Linked DNA regions of Homo sapiens: region 1 is linked to region 2. The links are contacts of gene promoters, found by promoter capture Hi-C in human tissues and cell types (Jung and others, 2019). All regions are on one chromosome and are shown on one strand. Each heading gives the region's core, a stretch centred on a gene start or on the middle of the fragment in contact. The rest is flanking DNA. Distances are from core to core; before and after follow the strand shown. Region 1 overlaps LOC124905046 (a long non-coding RNA gene). Region 2 holds the start of POFUT2 (protein O-fucosyltransferase 2).

What was found. The method cuts DNA at HindIII sites, captures the fragments that hold promoters and counts their contacts. A contact is called where the count stands out against the background at its distance.
Region 1: a fragment that was not itself captured here is called in contact with the fragment with the promoter of POFUT2 in region 2 in 1 of the 25 tissues and cell types used here (dorsolateral prefrontal cortex).

Annotation. Positions count from the first base shown.
Region 1 is chr21:46,449,073-46,452,054 of GRCh38, forward strand. It overlaps LOC124905046 (a long non-coding RNA gene), which reads right to left. Exons shown (of 2, transcript XR_007067915.1): 2 at 1-2,982. Among named protein-coding and RNA genes, the nearest start is that of DIP2A, 8.3 kb to the right of the region's middle. RefSeq lists a silencer at 1-91. The HindIII fragment of the contact is 6,584 bases long and covers 1-2,982 here.
Region 2 is chr21:45,286,422-45,289,280 of GRCh38, forward strand. It overlaps POFUT2 (protein O-fucosyltransferase 2), which reads right to left and starts at 1,474. Exons shown (of 9, transcript NM_133635.6): 1 at 1,320-1,474. The coding sequence starts at 1,450. LINC00205 (long intergenic non-protein coding RNA 205) reads left to right here and starts at 1,631. Exons shown (of 3, transcript NR_026943.1): 1 at 1,631-1,823. RefSeq lists a silencer at 1,401-1,930 and an enhancer at 2,085-2,815. The HindIII fragment of the contact is 23,447 bases long and covers 1-2,859 here.

The DNA of each region.
Region 1 (2,982 bases), core at 391-2,890, 1.2 Mb after region 2:
TAGACCTCCCCCAAGGAATGCAATTATTTTCCTAGGGTCTTAATATTCCTTGTTAGGAAAAGAATTTAGCGATATCTCTCCTACTTGCACGTCCGTTTATAGGCTCTCTGCAAGAAGAAAAATATGGCTCTTTTTGCCCGAACCCACAGGCAGTCAGACCTTATGGTTGTCTTCCCTTGTTCCCTAAAATCGCTGTTCTGTTCATTTTCAAGGTGCACTGATTTCATTATTGTTCAAACACACGTTTTTTTTTTTTTTTGGTTTGTTTGTTTTTTGAGATGGAGTCTCACTCTGTCGCCCAGGCTGGAGTGCAGTGGCGCCATCTCAGCTCACTGCAAGCTCCATCTCCCAGGTTCATGCCATTCTCCTTCCTCAGCCTCCCGAGTAGCTGGGACTACAGGTGCCTGCCACCACACCCGGCTGATTTTTTGTATTTTTAGTAGAGACGGGTTTTCACTGTGTTAGCCAGGATGGTCTTGATCTCCTGGCCTCGTCAAATGCACGTTTTACAATCGATTTGTACAGTTAATGCAATCATCACAGTGGACCTGAGGTGACATACATCCTCAGCTTACGAAGATAACAGGATTGAGATTAGACAGGCATAAGAAATTATAAGAGTATTACTAGGAAGTGATAAACGTCCATGAAATCTTCACAATTTATGTCCCTCTGCCGCGGCTCCAGCCGGTCCCTCGGTTTGGGGTCCCTGACTTCCCGCAACACAGCACAACCCAGAACCTCTGTAAGCCTCATTGGCTAAGAGTTTTTATCAAGGCCTCATTACATAGTCATGATGGATTGGATTATTGATCACATGATTGAACTTAAACTCCAACCCCCTCCCCTCTCCAGAGGTTTGAGGGTGGGGCTGAAAATCCTAATCCTCCAATCATGTGGTTGGGTCCTCTGGTGTCCAGCCCCCACCTTGAAGGGGCCCCACCACAATCACCTCAAAAGCCTGAATAGAAAACTTTTAATGACTGCACCTGGGATGGATGCCTGATATGGTTTGGATCTGTGTGTCTGCCCAATCTCATGCTGAATTCTAATCCCTAATGTTGGAGGTGGGACCTGGTGGGAGGTTACTGGATCATGGGGACAGTTCCTCGTGAATGGTTTAACACCTGGGTGCTGTCCTCAGACAGTGAATGAGTTCTCACGAGATCTGGTTGTTCAAGTGTGTGGCACCTCCATCCTCTCTCTGCCTCCTAATACAGCCATGTGAAGTGCCTTGCTCCCCCTTTGTCTTCTGCCATGATTGGAAGCTTCCTGAGGCCTCCCCAAAGGAAAAGCCACTATGCTTACTGTACAGCCTGCAGAACCGTGAGCCAAATATACCTCTTTTCTTTATAAATTATCCAGTCTCAGGCATTTTTTTTTTTTAGATGGAGACTTGCTCTGTCACCCAGGCTTAAATGGCACAATCTTGGCTCACTGCAACCTCCGCCTCCCGGGTTCAAGCAATTATCCTGTCTCAGCCTCCTGAGTAGCTGAGACTACAGGTGCACGCCACCAGGCCCGACTAATTTTTGTACTTTTAGTAGAGACAGAGTTTCACCATATTGGTCAGGCTGGTCTCGAACTCCTGACCTCAGGTGATCCACCGGCTTTGGCCTCCCAAAGTGCTGGGATTACAGGCCTCAGCCACCACACCTGGCCTCAGGCATTTCTTTATAGCAGTGTGAGAACAAATACAGTGCCTCACAGAGAGATGCTGATTCTCAAAACCCAACAATACCACCTTGCTTGCAGACCCCCAAGACTCTGATCCCAATACAGCCCACAGAAGCATGAGGCATACCATAGGAGGACAGCCTATACACAAATCATTAAACTGGACATAAACAGCATTCCACTGAAACTGGAAATAATATACACAAAACTATGCCTGAACAGATTCAGAAGGCATAAGTATGTGACCCAAGTGAGTGACCAAACACATGCTGCCGCCTCTTCTACTTCACACCCCTCAGTCTACATCTGTGGTTTCACGGGACGCTCCCTAGGACCAGTTGACAGAAGACGAAAAAATACAGGTTTGTTCTACCAACGGATCCATACGGTATGGTGGCATGAACCATAAATAGTTGCTACACTAGTGACTCACACCTGAAATCCCAGCACTTTGGGAGGCTAAGGCAGGCGGATCATGAGGTCAGGAGATTGAGACTATCCTGACCACCGTGGTGAAATCCCATCTCTACTAAAAGACACAAAATTAGCCGGGCATGGTGGCGTGTGCCTGTAGTCCCAGCTACTCGGGAGGCGGAGGCAGGGGAATCGCTTGAACCCGGGAGGCAGAGGTTGCAGTGAGCTGAGATCGCGCCACTGCACTCCAGCCTGGAAGACCGAGTGAGACTCCGTCTCAAAAAACAAACAAAAAGATGGTTGCTACACTACAACCTAGTTTAGGGTTGGATTTTTGAAGATTTCCAGCTGGCAAAACTTGGGAGGGTACAGCTGGTGGTCCATCTTATGTGGAAAGGAAGGTGTCTGAATTTACTGATCTGCAAGCATTCCCATGCAGTTACGCACTGTCCAGCTGGTCAATAACAGAAAGATTGCAAAGAACGGTTTCAAGGAAGTCTTCAGTGCCGGGCTCAGTGGCTCATGCCTTTGGGAGGCTGTGCCTTTAGCATGCTGTCTCAGCGCTCTGCCAGGCAGGAGGGCCCATGGACACTACACTTCCTTGGCTATAAAGTGAATCTCGTTTGAAATGTTGTGTGCTTATGTCAGTGAAACAAACACTCCTTAAGCCTTTCTGGCTGACACTTGTGAGTAGGAAAAGACAAGCCTCGTATCTGGAATATGAGACTATTCTTGTGAAAAGTGAACCACCAGCCCTTCCAGGATGGGAGAGTTCCAATACAGTAAACTCTCCTTATAAAATGGGGACTATGTCTAAAGACCTCTGTAAACCTGGATGTTTGTGCTCCTTGATGAAGTGACCCACAATGGGAGTATAGCACTGGTCTCTTT
Region 2 (2,859 bases), core at 224-2,723:
GATGATGTTCTTAATTTTTGCAAATCTCTTTTGGGTTTGGTGACAGCTGGATTCCCATACCCGTTTCTGCATTCAATCTGTTGTGACATCACAGATCAAGTGGTTTCTAGGAAAACTCCACAGTGCATTCATGAGAAGTGAAAAAGGCGTATAATACTCTGGTACTACTATTAAAACGGCTACAAAAGCTCAGAGATCCAGGACACACTTTAAGATCACTGCCCTAGAGGAAGGACACAAAGCGCCCCAAGGCACAGACAAGTCCCCAAGGCACAGACAAGTCCCCAAGGGCTACAGAAACCCTGTCCCTGGCGCTCTCCTTTCCCTGCTCTGCGCTGGTTTTCCATACTCCCATCGTCGCGAGTGAAGCTGCGTGCAGCGCCCAGGCCTGCGAACGCCACGAGGGGCCGTGCACACCTCTGCGTCCAGGCCCCTCCCGGGGTCCGCTTGGAGATCCCACAGCCACAGGGCGGCCGCGAAGCTCGTCTTGGCCCTGAGAATTCACTGCGGAGCGCCCGCCCGGCACTGACTCCCGGCTCCGCACACCCAGGCCTGGACCCGTGTCACTTGCAGGGGCCTCCGGAGCCAGCCCACGCTCAGCCTGAGCAACCCGGCCCCCTTCCTGGGCTCCCGAGGCTGCGCCCCGGGCCTCGCAGACGACCCCGCCTGCAGACCCGGGCCGCAGTGACGCAGCCTCGACTACAGCCAACCCGCTGGCCCGACCCTGCCCCCAGCCCCCGCCCCATCCCATCCCCCAGACTCCAGCCCGGCCCCGGCCCCTGCCCCTGCCCCTGCCCCTGTCCCGTCCCCGTCCCATCCTTCTTGGCCCCGGCTCCCGCCCCGCCCCCATCCCATCCCTCGGGCCCCCGTTCCTGCCCCCATCCCATCCCACCCCTCCTGGCCCTAGCCCCTGCCCCGCCCCCATCCCATCCCATCACCCTGGCCCCTGCCCCGCCCCCATCCCATCCCATCGCCCTGATCCCTGCCCCGCCCCCATCCCATCCCTCCTGGCCCCTGCCCCCTGCCCCTATACCATCACCCTGGCCCCTTACTCCGCCACATTCCTTGCCCCAGAACCCTGACCCCATCCCATTCCCCTGACCCCTGCCCCCTGACCCCGCTCCATCCCATCCCCCTGGCCCCTGCCCCATAACTCCGCTCCATTCCATCTCCCTGGCCCCGGACCACCCTCCATCCCGTGGGCCTGCCCCTGACCCCATCCCATCTCCCTGGCCCCTGACCCCGCCCCGCCCCCATCCCATCCTCTGACCCTGCCCGGTCCTGGAACCCCAGCGTTGGCACCGTGGACGCGCGTTTACCGTCTGCGGGAAGCCGCCCCCGACAGAATATCGGCCGCCGATTGTCCGGGCCAGAACTCCTGGCCGGAGGCAGAAGCCGGAGGCCAGGACACTGCCCCCAGCAGCAGGAAGACGAAGCTGAGTGTCGCCATGGCCCCGGGCGGCCACGCACTTCCGGCGGCCGCGCCCCGCCCCGGAACCACGCCCCGCCCCCGTGAAATGCGTTCCCAGTAGCCACGGCAACGCCCAGCTCCGCCCTCCCCGCGCATGCGTTATGCGCCATCACCGGCAAGCAGGGGCGGGAGGGGGAACTGCGCGTGCGCAGAGTCTCCGCCCTCCTGACCGCAGCGGCTAGAGGTTCCATTGCAGACCCGGAGGCCGTGGCTGTGGTTCGCGGCGGTGCTGTCGCGGGCGCCCTGGCGCAGCCCACGCAGGGGCTCCTGAGGGTCCGCGAGGCCGGGAGGTCCGGGGGTCGGGAGGTCCCGGGGTCGGGAAGTCGGTGGACCCTGCAGGCCAGTGGGGAGGGTACGCGAGACTGGGGGCCGGGAGGGCTGACGGCTGGTGGCGCGGGGCGGGTCCGTGGGGAGGAGGCCCGGGGCTGGTAGGGGCGGGAGGGCTGGACGGCGGGGGCGGGGCGGAGGAGGGGGTCCGTAGACGGGGTCGGCGCCGGGTGCTCTCGCCCCTCTGGAGCTGGGGTCGGGGCGGGAGCCGCGCATGAGAGCCTGGGTTTCTAGTCGGGGGGCGCCGTCGAGCTCCACACCTGCGGCCTCCTGGGTGCCCCCAACCCTGGAGCCCCGGCGAGGGGGCACCCGGGCTGAGGCCTGGCCCTCCAAGGAGCCCTGGAGGGACTGTGCTGCTAGGGCGCGGGGCTCGATGGGGTGATCTGGAGACCTGGGGGGATCCGGGGCTGCCGCCCCTGCGCTGCCAACCTCCCACCCCGCCCCTTCTGCGAGGCGTTATTAAAGGTCTGGTTTCGGGAGCCAGGTGCGTGCCCGCCGCCGCCGCTCCCCGCAGCCTCCAGGCAGCTCCCGCTGTTCCCCGAGGGCACCAGCACTGGCCGACCGACCTGGCTTGGGGCGCGGCGCTGGCAAACCCGGCCTTCTGAGGGGACGCCACGCTGACTCTAGTGCAGGCAGCCCCCAAAACGGTATAATTGGACGAATTTCTTGAAGGATGCCAGTTACCAAAAAAGAAAATACTAATGCTTATTATCTGTTAAATTTGAGATCAATTTGTTATCAAATTTTCTCACACAGAAAATTCCAGGCCCAGAGGGCCAAGCTGGTGAATCCTACTTAGAGAAGAAATAATAGGAATCCAGCCACTCAGACGATGGACGAGGAGGGGCACTTCCCTGCTCGATGTATGGGCCAGCATTGCCTTGATAGCAAAGTCAGACATCACCAGACAGTAGAACCACAGACCAATGTCTTTCATGAACCAAGACACAGCATTTAAAAAAATTAGCAAATGGAATTTATATCTGCCTATTGTTTACAAAAAAAGCCAAACTTTGTAAAATACTTGAAGAGATTTATTCTGAGCCAAATATGACCCATGA